Regions from separate parts of the Homo sapiens genome. Here regions 1 and 3 are each linked to region 2. Evidence: promoter capture Hi-C in 16 types of primary human blood cells and fetal thymus (Javierre and others, 2016). All regions are on one chromosome and are shown on one strand. The core of a region is centred on a gene start or on the middle of the fragment in contact, and the rest is flanking DNA. Distances in the headings are between cores, read along the strand shown. Region 1 has its middle 4.3 kb from the start of BTN3A2. Region 2 holds the start of BTN1A1 (butyrophilin subfamily 1 member A1). Region 3 holds the start of TRR-TCG4-1 (tRNA-Arg (anticodon TCG) 4-1).

Region 1 (4,821 bases), core at 734-3,233, 140 kb before region 2:
TCCCAGCACTTTGGGAGGCCTAGGCAGGAGGATCACTTGAGCCCAGGACCTCGAGACCAGCCTAGGCAACATAGTGAGACTCTGTCTCTATTAAAAAAAAAAAAAAAAAAAAAAAAAAAAAGCTTTCTAAGCACATCCGAGAACTGTAGAAATCACTGTGGTCTAACCACCTCATTTATAAATGAAACCATTGATATTCAGAGAGGAAGTGATTTGCCTATGGCTACCCAGGTTTTGTCCTGGGATGACGATTTAATCCTTAAAATAGTAATCTGTTTATGAGTTTTCTGATTTTAAAAGTAATTTGTTTTTATTCTGGAAAATGAGAAAAATAAGGAACTTTTTTGGAGGTTCTAACAAGGGGGTGAGTGCAGCTACTCATATATCCTTAAATGATCCGGCTGGGCGTGGTGGCTTATGCTTGTAATCCTAGCACTTTGGGAGCCCAAGGTGGGCGGATCACTTGATGTCAGGAGTTCAAGACCAGCCTGGCCAATGTGACGAAACCTCACATTGTGAGGGGGCCTGGGGCTAAGCAATAGAAAAAATTTGCTGCTGAGCATTAGGAAGTTTCTCCCTCTCAAAACTGTGTGCTCAAAGAGGATGACCTTTCCCAATAGAGGAGGCTCATTCTTATTTTTTAATTAATTAATTAATTTATTATTATTATTATTTTGAGATAGAGTCTCACTCTGTCACCCAGGCTGGAGTACACCCAGGCTCACTGCAACCTCCGCCTCCCAGGTTCAAGCAATTCTCCTGCCTCAGCCTCCCAAGTAGCTGGGACTACAGACATGTACCACCACACCCAGCTAATTTTAGTATATTTAGTAGAGACGGGGTTTCACCACATGGGTCAGGCTGGTCTCGAACTCCTGACCTCGTGATCCACCCGCCTTGGCCTCCCAAAGTGCTGGGATTACAGGCATGAGCCACCACGCCCAGCCTCTTTCTTCTTTTATTGCAGACCTCTGGGATTCAGTTTACCATGGCCCTTCTCTCAACAGCAGCCACCAGCAAACCACTTAACCCCTTGGGCTCCTGCTTCCCTTCAACCAAGAGCAACAATCATCCTTTTCTTTTCTTTTTTCTTTTTTGAGACAAGGTCTCACCCTGTCACCTAGGCTAGAGTGTAGTGGCATGATCTCAGCTCACTGCAGCCTCTGCCTACGGGGTTAAAGCGATTCTCCCACCTCAGCCTCCCGAGTAGCTGGGACTACAGGCATGTGCCCCCACGGCCAGTTAATTTTTGTATTTTTTGGTAGAAATGGGGTTTCACCATGTTGGCCAGGCTGGCCTCGAACTCTTGACCTCAAGTGATCCGCCTGCCTCGGCCTCTCGAAGTGCTGGGATTACAGAAATGAGCCACCACGCCTGGACAGAAATGTTAAAATTTTAAAAAATTATTTTAATGCCAATTTAAATCTAAAAATTGTAACCTAAGCAGACTCTATATCATCTGGTTCACATCTTTATAATCAACTGTTGTGGAGTGGTTCCAGTTTCCAAGGAAACTACTGTTTATCATATCAGTGACCAATGACTTCCCTAATAACAAATTTTAACTTTTAATGCTGCATTTTTTAACTAGTTCCCATCTCTTTCAGTAGTTAGAAGACATATTTTCAGATGTATTATAAAAATTAGTTTTTGTCTAAACAAGTTTTTTACATAACTCTGCTGAAGAAACTCTGGCCTGAAAGATGAAGTCCAGCTTTCTTGGACTTTTTTTTTTCTTTTTCTTTTTCTTTTTCTTTTTTTTTTTTCGAAACGGAGTCTCGCTCACTCTGTAGCCCAGGCTGGAGTGCAGTGGTGCGACCTCAGCTCACTGCAACCTCTCCCTCCTGGGTTCAAGCAATTCTCCTGCCTCAGCCTCCCGAGTAGCTGGAGCTACAGGCACCCACCACCACACCTGGCTAATTTTTGTATTTTTAGTAGAGACGGGGTTTCACCATATTGGCCAGGCTGGTCTCGAACTCCTGACCTTGTGATCCGCCCACCTTGGCCTCCCAAAGTGCTCGGATTGCAGGCGTGGGCCACCGCGCCCGGCCTCCTTGGACTTTTTATCTGCATTGCAGGCACTCAGTGGTCCAGGCCACCTACTTCTGCTCTACCTTTGGACATCCTGGCAATGTGCTGCTCCTCAGCCTGACCACAACACCTGCAGTGTCCCAAACATATCATGCAGTTTCATGCCTCTGCACCCATTTCCTCTCCCTGGTCAACACACCTGGGTGACCCCTATTCTACTCACTCAGACAAACCAGGACAGGATCCTTGACCTTTCTGCAACTCTATTTTTCTCACCTAGAAATAGAATTAATGACATCTACTTCTTTAGCAGATGTTTAGGAATGAGATACGGTGTGGAGAGCACCTGGTGCGAACACAGCGCGTATCTGTGATAGTGACCGTTAGCCGTTATCCTCATCACCACATCCTTTCCCCACATCTCAGATGGTGCCACAGTCTACCACCTCAGAGAGAAAATAGAAAAGGGAGGTCCCAAACTTCCTGCTCCACCACCTATACCTGTCCCTCATGATCTGTTTCCTCTGATTTCAACAAGCAGGTGTTCTTTCTCCTGTCTCAGGCTAATTCTGCACCCACATCGGGGAGCCCCCACCCCAGCTTCCCTCAGGCTTCTCTATTTGGTCAATTCATTAATTCATTCATTTGACAAGGATCCATGAACGCTAACTATGTGCCAGTCACTATTCTAGGTGGTGGAGTCACAGAAGTGAACAAAACAGAAAGTTCTCATTCAAAAACAACATAACTTGTGGTAGGAGGCAGACAGGAAATGAAATAATTAGTAATATATATGGTGTGCTGGATGATGATAAGTGCTCAGGAGAGAAATAAACCTGGAATAGCAGAACTTGCATTTCTTTTTGAAGGGGTCTTGCTCTGTTGTTCAGGCTAGAGTACATTGGAGTGATCATAGCTCACTGCAGCCTAATTTTTTTTTTTTTTGAAAGACAGAGATCTTGCTATGCATACTGCCCAGGTTCTTGAACTCCTGGCCTCATGCAATTCTCCTCCCTCGATCTTTCAAGGTCCTGTGATTACACCTGTAAGCCCTCGTTCCCGGTTGGAAGTTACAGTTTAAAATAGGGTGGTTATGAGCAAGGGGAGCGAGGCACAGAATACTTGGGAGAAAAGCATTCCGAGTTGAGAGAACAGCAGTGCCAGAGCACAGAGGCAGAAGCACTGTGGTTTGTGTGAAGAAAAGCAATGAGGCTGGGGTGCGCAGAGCACACAGGGTGATCAGGAGAAGAGGAGGTGACAAGGCCAGAGGGGGTTGAGGGCCAGATCATGTATGGCCTTGAAAGTCATCATGCTGACCTGGGCTTTACCTCTGAGAGGGGAGCCACTGGAAGGTTAGAGCAGAAAAAGGACTGGACTGACTTATGTTTTAAGAAGTTACTTCACATGCTAGACCAAGATGGGCTGTGGGTAGGGGTGGTGGATGGAGGCCTGAAGACCCAGCTGGGAGCTACTGCAGTGATCCAGGGGAAAGATGCAGATGACTTGTACCAGGGAGGAGCCATGAAAATGTTATGATGCTGGATTTATTTTCAAGATAGAATAAAAAGGCTTTGCTGATAAACTTACAGGTGGGGTGTGAAAAAGGAGGGCATCAAGGGTGACCACAAGGTTTTGGTCCTAAGAAACGGTACAGATGGAGTTGCCACTTACTGAGATGGGGAAAATGAGGGAGAAACCGCTTGTGGAGGCCAGAGGAGGAGCCAGCACAGAATCCAAAGGTCAGTTTTGAATATGTTGGGTTTGAGGAGCTTACTAGAGATTCCCGTGGAGATGTAGAGTAGGCAGGTCAATAATAAGCTTGCAGTCCAGGCAACGGGTCAGGGCTGGAAACACAAGTTATTCTCTTTGTCTTCTTTATATTCATGTTTGTTGCCACTGTGTGTTTCACTTACCTAATGCATTCGTGATTTATTGCTGCATAACAAATTACCACAAACTTAGTGGTTTAAAACAGTACACTTTTCCAGCCTGGGCAACATGATGAAACCCCATCTCTACTGAAAACGCAAAAAATAAAAGATAAAAAATTAGCCCAGCGTGGTGGCACACACCTATAATCCCCGCTACTTGGTAGGCTGAGGCACAAGAATTGCTAGAACCCAGGAAGTGGAGGTTGCAGTGAGCCAAGATTGTGCCACTGCACTCCAGCCTGGGCAACACAGCGAGACTCTGCCTCAAAAATAAATAAATAAATAACAGTACACTTTTATCACTTCAGTTTCTGTGGGTCAGAAGTCCAGGCAGAGCTTAGTGGGCTTCTCTGCTCAGAACTTCACAAAGCAAAAGTATTATTCATGCATGTAAACCTCTAAGCACAATACCAACATCACGGTAGGTTCTATGTGAGTATAAGCTATTATTAAGAATAATAATCAATCCTCTTCCCTCTCCTCCATCCCTAAGGCCTCATCATTTCTTGCCTGGAGTGTCACAGTAGCTTTCTTCCTGGTCTCCTTGTCTTCTACCATCTGATTCTCTAATGAGGACTGGCTATATTGTGTAATCATAGCGTCATCATTCCACAGAATACAATGTAAATGGCACTCTTACTTCCCATCTTCCCTGGCACCTTTCACACTATTGTTTCCAATGTACACATTTTCTCATGCCATTTTTAAAAAAGATTTTCTCTTCACCTTCAAACTAAAACTCCAACTCCACAACAGGCACCAGCTGATACCGAACCTTTCATAATGGAAAATAATGACATTCATAAAGAGTTAATATGTGCAGGTGCTGTGCTAGGTTCTCCCCAAACAACTTAAGAAG
Region 2 (4,376 bases), core at 621-3,120:
AAACTTGATGCTGAAGTCACTAGGGAGATGTGGAAGGATTTTTAAGCAAAAAGTGATATGATCAGATTTGCATTTGGGAAAGATCATTCTCTTGGCAGTCTGGTGGGTGAAATGGAGCAACTGTCTTTTGTCTTAATCACAATTCCAACTCAAAGATAAATAACAAAACTGGGAAGAATGTTTGTTACAAATATAATACAGGATTGATATTTTTAAGTTATTAAAATTCACACAGATTGCTAAGAACTAGCACCAGGACCAGTCTTGAAAACAATGGGCAACTGGCCTGAACAGCTCATTTCTAGAATGTATTAAATGTCTAATTAACACATAAAAAACTCCAGCCTCGCTAACATATAAAGGCACAATAAATAATAATTTAATTAACTTGACCCATCCCAATAGTAAGGATGTGAAATAATAACTTCTCAGTGCTAGCAGGGATTAGGTGAGGGCACCTCCATTGAGGGTGTGATGGATTCAACATTTCAGGAAGGGACTGTAGAAATATGCTGATACTAGGTCGGGCATGGTGGCTCACACCTGTAATCCCAGCACTTTGGGAGACCAAGGCAAGCAGATCATTGAAGCTCAGGAGTTCGAGACCAGCCTGGCCAACATGGTGAAACCCTGTCTCCACTAAAATACAAAAATTAGTTGGGCATGGTGGCACGTGCCTGTAATCTCAGCTACTCAGGAGGCTGAGGCAAGAGGAAAATCCTTTGAACCCTGGAGGCGGAGGTTGCAGTGAGCCAAGATTACGCCACTGCACTCCAGCCTAGGCGACAGAGTGAGATTCCGTCTCAAAAAAAAAAAGAAAAGAAAAGAAATATGCTTATACCATTTGATCTGATGACTCTATTTCTGGAAATTTATTAAACAGTTTATCAGGACATTATCCAATTTGCAAATAAAGACTTATATATAAAGTGTATTATTTACAATAGGAAAAAAATCCCAAATGTCCCACAATCATGGCAATTATACAACTATTAACAATATTTTGAGTTACACAAAAAGTCTAATTGATTGCTTTTATGATATACATAAGCATAAAATAAATCTTGGAAGGACTATGCCAAAATGTGAATTGAGGCTATCATTAGTTAGTAGATTAAGTGTGACCTCCATTTTATAAAAATATTTTTCTGTATTTTTAAATTTTTTCATAACAATGAGAGGTAGGTTTAGTATAAATTAAGGAATTGTAGGCCTCATGATGAGTTGCTTCAAAAGAAATAATTGTCAGGGAGGCAACTTTTGGGCCCTGTAAACAGAATTCACAGCCTACCCTTAAGACTGGCCTTTAATGGAGTTGTTCCAACAGACACAGCACCTAAGGTGGACGGACGCTCCAATAACGAAGATGGCTATAGACAGAGGCTACTGCTACCTTGGCCTCTGGGCTTTCATTTTTCAACCCGCAGAAATAATAATAGAATAACAATTTATCCTCCGCTGAGTTCCTACTATGTGCTAAGCACTTTACCTGCTTAATCTCACTTAATCCTCCCAACACCTCTTCAAGAAAGGTATGATCAATATTATTACCATTTTAGAGATCAAAGAACTGAGGCTTGGAAAGAGGAAATAACTGGCTGAAGCCATCACATCTCATTTGTGTGTTTCCTTGCCTCTCTTCTCTTTTTCTCTTTTCTGCCTTTCATTTGGTCCAGCTCATCAATGCATATCTTGATTTCTGAGCTGAAGACCACAAATCCAGTTTTCCATCTCTCTGAAAAACTTTTCATCTCCCTTTTTTTTTTCCTCAGAGTGAATATACCAGGCCACCTGGAGGCAGGCTTTCCTGAGAGCACCTCCCGCTTCCTTTTCCTGCTGGCTTTTAACTTTTGCCCCGGGGGCCACAGCCAGCTTTCTCACTTGGTAGCAGTGGCCTCTTGTGCCTTTTTCTCCAAGATCACCCAGGTCAGTATGTGTGGTTACTCTCAGCTCCCTGAGGGAGTGAGCAGCCAGAGGGGCATAGCATACTTCTCTCCCTCCAGCTCCTTTCTCCTTGGTCCTAGGCCCTCTACTCTTCAAGCCCTTTTGCTTGCTTCAGCTCCTGCTTCTTGCTCCATCTCCTCCCATCTTTTCTCTCTTCTCCAATTCATTTCCTTGGACTCCATTTCTGCCTTTATACCCTTATCTTTATTATCATTGCCAAAAGCAAATACCAAATTCTTGTATTTGAAAAAAGACTTTGGCCAGGCACGGTGGCTCACGCCTGTAATCCCAGCACTTTGGGAGGCCAAGGCGGGTGGATCACGAGGTCAGGAGTTCGAGGCCAGCCTGGCCAACGTGGTGAAACTCCGTCTCTACTGAAAATACAAAAAATAGCGGGGCATGGTGGTGCGCGCCTGTAGTCCCAGCTACTCCGGAGGCTGAGGCAGAACAATCGCTTGAACCCAGGAGGCTGAGGTTGCATTGAGCCGAGATCATGCCACTGCACTCCAAGCTGGGCAACAGAGCAAGACTGTCTCAAAAATAAATAAATAAATAAATAAAAAGGAGACTTTTTTTTTAGTGCAGTGATTCCAAGATTTGTTCATCGATATGCAACCAACTAATGAGTGTTATGCCTCACAGTTCCCTTCTCCTAAGTTTTAGAGTTAGAGTAGTGGGTGGGAAGGTGATAACCACAGTGTAAACTAAAAATCCATACTGGGGATGGAGGCTGAGAGGAGGTTTCAGGGGCAAATGACCAGAACACTTGCAGCTGGAAAGAACTGTAGAGAGGACTTTGGAAAGCGGAGGGTTGACAGAGCCGGTAGTTGTCTCCTGTCCATTCATCTCCTAGGCTGAAGCTCCTGAGGGGACTCACATCAGTTATCTTGCTGCTCCAGAAGGGTGGGAGATGGCAGTTTTCCCAAGCTCCGGTCTCCCCAGATGTCTGCTCACCCTCATTCTCCTCCAGCTGCCCAAACTGGATTCAGGTAAGTCTCTCTCTCTCTCTGGGCTGCATAGTTGAAATATATCAATAAATGTAAAATAAACAATCCCACTTGGCTCTCCCTGGAGACCTCCACTGGATCCAGACAAACTCAGCTGTCAAAGGAGTAAGAGAGCGCGGGGCACTGCGCTTTGGCGGGAATCTGGTCGGTGTCTGTCCGTAGTTCCCATCTCCACATCCCGTCTGATCCCGCTCGTTTTTCGGCAGCTCCCTTTGACGTGATTGGACCCCCGGAGCCCATCCTGGCCGTTGTGGGTGAGGACGCCGAGCTGCCCTGTCGCCTGTCTCCGAACGCGAGCGCCGAGCACTTGGAGCTACGCTGGTTCCGAAAGAAGGTTTCGCCGGCCGTGCTGGTGCATAGGGACGGGCGCGAGCAGGAAGCCGAGCAGATGCCCGAGTACCGCGGGCGGGCGACGCTGGTCCAGGACGGCATCGCCAAGGGGCGCGTGGCCTTGAGGATCCGTGGCGTCAGAGTCTCTGACGACGGGGAGTACACGTGCTTTTTCAGGGAGGATGGAAGCTACGAAGAAGCCCTGGTGCATCTGAAGGTGGCTGGTGAGTAGACGGGTTTTGACTTTCTCCGACGACTCCCCTGCTGTATACACTTTCGTATGGATCAGTTACTTTGGAAACCATCAGATTCATTCTCAAAATCTCTTTTAGGTTGATGTCGCCGGGGAGGGACGACTATCTGGGCGGGAGGCGAGGGGGGGTAAAAGAATTTACCAAGACAGTTGTAAAGAAAGGCAGATTTACTTTTAAAAGTATGAAAATACTTTTCGAGGAGGCAAAAGGCAGGATCAGCAAAAGAGAAGCTGACTGCCAGGAAACAAAGGCTTGCTGGATAATTTATAGAATAGTTTTTATGCTGTCTGTTGAAGATGGCTTTGTGCAGTATCTATAAGGCAAAGGTTGCAGTGAGCTAACTTGCAGGTGTTTGGTGATAGTTGGACACAGGAAGGATGACTGTGAGTTATTTGCACAGGAGGGCTGTGTACTGGACCATGAAGAAAGGCAGACTTGCAGCTTATCTGCCTTATCTCTTTGTTTTCCCCTGATTAGGACTCCACAGCTAGAAGGTACTGAAGGTCCTACAGTAGGAAATCAGTGAGAAAGGGTTTTGAGTTGAACATGGAGAGAACAGTGCAATGTCTTTATTGTAGAACTTTATTTCAATTATCTCCAGCCCTTTTTCAATAATAGGGTAAGCATTTCTTCATGAAATAATTAAATACATATAAGAGTTATATAACATTCTTTTATACAAGTACACCATAATTTACTTCATCGAGTCCCTGAATTGTACATTTAAATTGTATTTCTCACCATTACACATCTTATGGCTGTGGTGAGCATACCACACACTTTAAGGCTGGCTTATGGATTAGTTTCTAAAGACTGACATCCTAAGATTAGAGAGCATGGC
Region 3 (4,391 bases), core at 496-2,995, 200 kb before region 2:
GCCACAGAGTGAGACTCTGTCTCAAAAATAATAATAATAATAATAATAATAATAATAATAATTCTCACATTGAAGATGATTGCAGAATTCGAAAATAAATGAGAAATTCGGCATATTTTTATTGAGCTCCTACTATTTGTCAGATGTTATTCTATGGATAGGGAAAGAAAGACTATGTAAAAGGCCCAATTTCTATGCACCAGAAGCCGCTATATTTGCTAACCAAGAGAAACCAAGACTTATCACAAATGAGCCAGGAGAGCCATTATTCCCAGTATCTGGGGTTTAGGAAAATTAAGGAAATGTCTTATATGTAGGCTGTTGACATTATCTTCAAATGAAGTACTTGACTTCACAGAGATTCACTGACAGGCTTGAAAGAAGCCACACAAAATAGAACTTTATATGCCATGATGGGGCCAAGAGCGCTACGGAACATTATAAATTCTATAAATATCTTCTCCATAGTATGATGCTAATGCATTACATTTTCGTGTTGATTCATCTATTAAATGTAAAAATTGTTAATAATAAAAATTTTTGCATTTCTATTTCGTGTTCCTTCACTTCTTAATATATGGGAACCTCAAAAACTGGTAATGGCTCTAGTCCGCTCGGCACTCCTGAGAAACCCCAAGGAAAGTATTTTCTTTCCTTTCTAAACAGAACCATACCACGAAAAGTGCTCTGATATCACATTATCACAATCAGAGAAAGTACCAGAACAGCATGGAGAGGGGGTAATTGTCTCCGGGGTCTGCAGATATCCATGCAGGATGGCGAGAAAGACCACGGTACAGATGTTGCCTTGTGGTAAAACTGCCTTCCAGGTACAGTTTTCTTAACAACTATCTGGGCAGACCCTGCAAGAACCTAGTCTGTAAATGGTGAATGTGGATGAGCATCATAGGGAAGAAACCTTGAGTAAGCTTATTTTAACATATCCTTCGATGCAGACAATATGCAGAATTTTAGCATCTTTTAGATGCCATAAACTCCGCTTCTTCTGCCTTGGGAGTCAGAACAAACGACTTTTCTCTCCAAGGAGTAGTTATATTACCACAAGACTAAAATAATTGTCGATACCAACCGTTTATAAATCCCGATTCTGTGGCCCCAAATATCCCACCTAATCTAAAGTTTTCATTTTCTCATTGGCGAAAACACGGGCGCTGTAGATGCCAACACGGGGGGTTGGAGGGGGCGGGTGGGGGGAAGCTCGTTTTATTTTCTAAGTATTGCAGCAACAACGGAACTGCGGGGGACCACGTGGCCTAATGGATAAGGCGTCTGACTTCGGATCAGAAGATTGAGGGTTCGAATCCCTTCGTGGTTAAGTGGGGTTCGTTTTCGGGCATGAAAATTTTATTACCCATTTCATTCCAAGAAAAAAATAAATCATACACTCTCTGGGTTTTCTGAATCCTTTTTTTCTTCCATCTCCTCTCCTTTAAAGGGAAGAAGGAGACATTCTCAAAGGCCTTAGGAGAACAAGTGACAGAGTGAAGAAAGACTGGAAAGTCAAAACTGAAATACAGCCATCTACTACTTTGGAGCTGTCAGGTTCTCCCCAAGTTTGGATTTTAAGCACCTGCGTTTCGGTTTTGTAGGCTTAGATTCAATTCAAGGATTCAATTCCTTGAAAAAAAGAAATTCAGATCTATAAGCCAAGCTGTCTCAAACTGTAGCGTCTCAGACTAATGCCAGGCCCCAGTGGCTAGCACAGTAGGAAACCTGTTGCTTCTTCTGATTTAGCACTAGGCCAAAAACTCTTCACATTTCTTTTTTAGTCTACATCCGCGTGTACCAAGGAGTTTTGGCAGCTGCTGAAGCCTATGTTACTAGTTCTTACTCTCCATTTTAACTTTTTTGTTGTGGGTGTGTTGCCATCAAAAGGATGAGAATACCTAATATTGAATTTTATATTGCAAAGCAAAAATATAAAGGTAATTAAAATAGTCCAACTGGTTACAGTGTGTGTGTGCAAACAGGAAAAGACAGGGAACACAGCTGTGCAAAATATATAAAAAACATTTTGTATTCCTAAATAACATTTTGTGTGCCTGAATTTAATAATAATTTAGGATTAAGGAAAAGTAATTTCCAATTGCTGACATCATGATGAAACATAAGACATTTGACTCCATCCAGATGAGATCATTGATTCAAATCACATGGAGTCCATAAGTGTGTTTCTAGATCAAAGCAAAGAATATTAAAATTAGTAATAATTACCTCTCCCTGTCCCCAGCTTCTTCCATAGCTCTGTTTGATTCTGGTTTCCTCTAGTCATCTGTAGATTCCAAGTTGTATAAAAAATGTGGGGATTGAGCATTGGTTTCCAGACTTTGAAATTTATTGGATTAGAAAGTGTCAATGTCCTAATGTCATGCAAAACCATGTTCTGCCTTGTTAATGGCAAAACCCACCATTTGCACTGAGCATCCTTTTATAAACTAGAAAAAGGATATAACCTCAAAAGAAGAGTAACCTTTTAAAATGAATACAGTGATACTTGAGAATTACATAGCCCACCTTTTTTCTTGATTCTAAGAACAGGAAAAAGCTTCCTCCTCTCTCTCTGATCAGTATGTAACCCTGTGTACCAGAGGATGAACAAGACTTTTTCCAGGGGCCCCACAGCCTCCCTCAAGCATTTAATGAAAGTGGAAATTCTGATGCAAGAATATAAAAATTTGCCTGTCATAACCCTTTCTCTCTTCTTTTTCTTTCTTTCTCTACTGCACTGATAGCAAAGAATGCCAAAAGGAGGAGAGAGACTTTCCAGACTGGGAAGTGCCAAAAGGGAGAAAACTGAAAAAGATAGGGAAATCTGTGGACATCCTGAGTCTTAAATGGTCACCGTGATTTAGGAACTTGTCCCAAATCCACCAAATAAAAATATATGCACCCTTTGATGAATGTGTAAGCCTTTCTGCTTTGAGAGTGGGATTCAGAAAATAAATAAATAAATAACATGAAAAACATCTTTTGGAGCTGGATTAAAAAAAAGCAACTGGAAGAAAATAAATCAAGAAGAAAGATTTCTAGATGTGTATCACAAACACTGGGAGTTGGGTCCAGTTGCACAGGGGATTAAGAGATTCATGAATTTAATAGAGTAGCCCCCCTTATTTACAGGAGTTATGTTCCAAGACCCCAGTGGATGCCTGAAACCTTGGATAGTGCTGAACTCTATATACACCATGTTTTTTCCTATACATACACACATATGATAAAGTTTAATTTATAAATTAGGCATTTTAAGAGATTAACAACAATAACTAATAAAACAATTATAACAATCTACATACAGTAATAAAAGTTATATGAATGTGATCTCTCTGTCTCTCAAAATACTTTATTGTACATTACTCACCTATTTTCAGACCTCAGTTGACTATGGGTAACTGAAACCACACAAAGTGAAACCTCAGATAGAAAGGGGACTACTGTAAATGTTTATGGAGCACCTACCCTGTGCCTGCTTCTCTCCCCAGCCACTGTGCTAGGTACTGGGATTCTAGAATATAGGATCTAGCAATCTAGGAACACAGTAACAAAAGTACACAAAAACCCATGTCCTCAAGAGGTTTGGAGTTGAAGGAAGAGAGGAGGAGACAACACAGAAAACACAAAATGAATAAGTAGATTATATAAGTAAATTATACTTTATATTAGAAGAGATATATTCTGAAGGAGTTAAAAACTATGCCCCTCTGGCATAGTGACTATTTTGAGTTAAAGGCACTTGAAAAATAGCAGATGCAAGAATATCACTCTGACTCTCATTCTGTTTCTTAAAAGCAGAATATTAAATTCCTCTGTGAAATAAGTCCTCCCTAAACTAGAATGACAGTATCATTCATTCTAGTTTCTAAGGTAACTGAGGCTGAGGGAAATCTGTGTAAACAAATCTTGTTAAATGAGAATTTATCCTCTCAGCCACTTCTCTACCCAAGTAACTACCCAAGCCCAAGCCCCTTTGCCTTGTTACATTTACATAGTTTACCACTTTCTGTCTAATTCAGCATGTAAGTGTTCCACTCTCACTGCACTGTAGTATCTTCATTTTCCAATGAAGCCTCTTGTGCCACAGAAAACTATTAAATGAATTTGTATGGTCTTTTTGTATTAATCTGCCTTACATCAATTTAATTCTCAGGTTCAGCTGGAGAAATTGTAGTAAGAATAGAGGTAAAATTTTGCCTCCACTACAGTTCAAAAACATAAAGATTATATTATATATTTTTAAGACATAGGGTCTCACTTTGTCACCCAGGCTGGAATGCAGTGGTGTAATCATGGCTCACTGCAGCCTCAACCACCAATCCTCCTGCCTCAGCCTCCCAAGTAACTAGAACTACAGGTGTGTGCCACCACATCTAGCT

What was found. Contacts are between HindIII fragments. The CHiCAGO score rates a contact against its expected background, and 5 or more counts as called.
Region 1: a fragment that was not itself captured here is called in contact with the fragment with the promoter of BTN1A1 in region 2 in 13 of 17 cell types (megakaryocytes, erythroblasts, activated CD4 T cells and 10 more); the score reaches 14.9 in megakaryocytes.
Region 3: a fragment that was not itself captured here is called in contact with the fragment with the promoter of BTN1A1 in region 2 in 4 of 17 cell types (non-activated CD4 T cells, megakaryocytes, M0 macrophages and 1 more); the score reaches 6.1 in non-activated CD4 T cells.

The regions. Positions count from the first base shown.
Region 1 is chr6:26,358,467-26,363,287 of GRCh38, forward strand. No RefSeq gene overlaps it. Among named protein-coding and RNA genes, the nearest start is that of BTN3A2, 4.3 kb to the right of the region's middle. RefSeq lists an enhancer at 2,560-2,609. The HindIII fragment of the contact is 3,727 bases long and covers 121-3,847 here.
Region 2 is chr6:26,498,433-26,502,808 of GRCh38, forward strand. BTN1A1 (butyrophilin subfamily 1 member A1) reads left to right here and starts at 1,871. Exons shown (of 8, transcript NM_001732.3): 1 at 1,871-1,926; 2 at 2,798-2,933; 3 at 3,158-3,505. The coding sequence starts at 2,855. All of the region lies in intron 1 of LOC107986583 (a long non-coding RNA gene), which reads right to left. RefSeq lists an enhancer at 3,160-3,289. The HindIII fragment of the contact is 5,298 bases long and covers 1-4,376 here.
Region 3 is chr6:26,298,414-26,302,804 of GRCh38, forward strand. It overlaps TRR-TCG4-1 (tRNA-Arg (anticodon TCG) 4-1), which reads left to right and starts at 1,264; the gene lies at 1,264-1,336. It overlaps LOC124901287 (a long non-coding RNA gene), which reads left to right. Exons shown (of 2, transcript XR_007059520.1): 2 at 1-551. The HindIII fragment of the contact is 1,637 bases long and covers 928-2,564 here.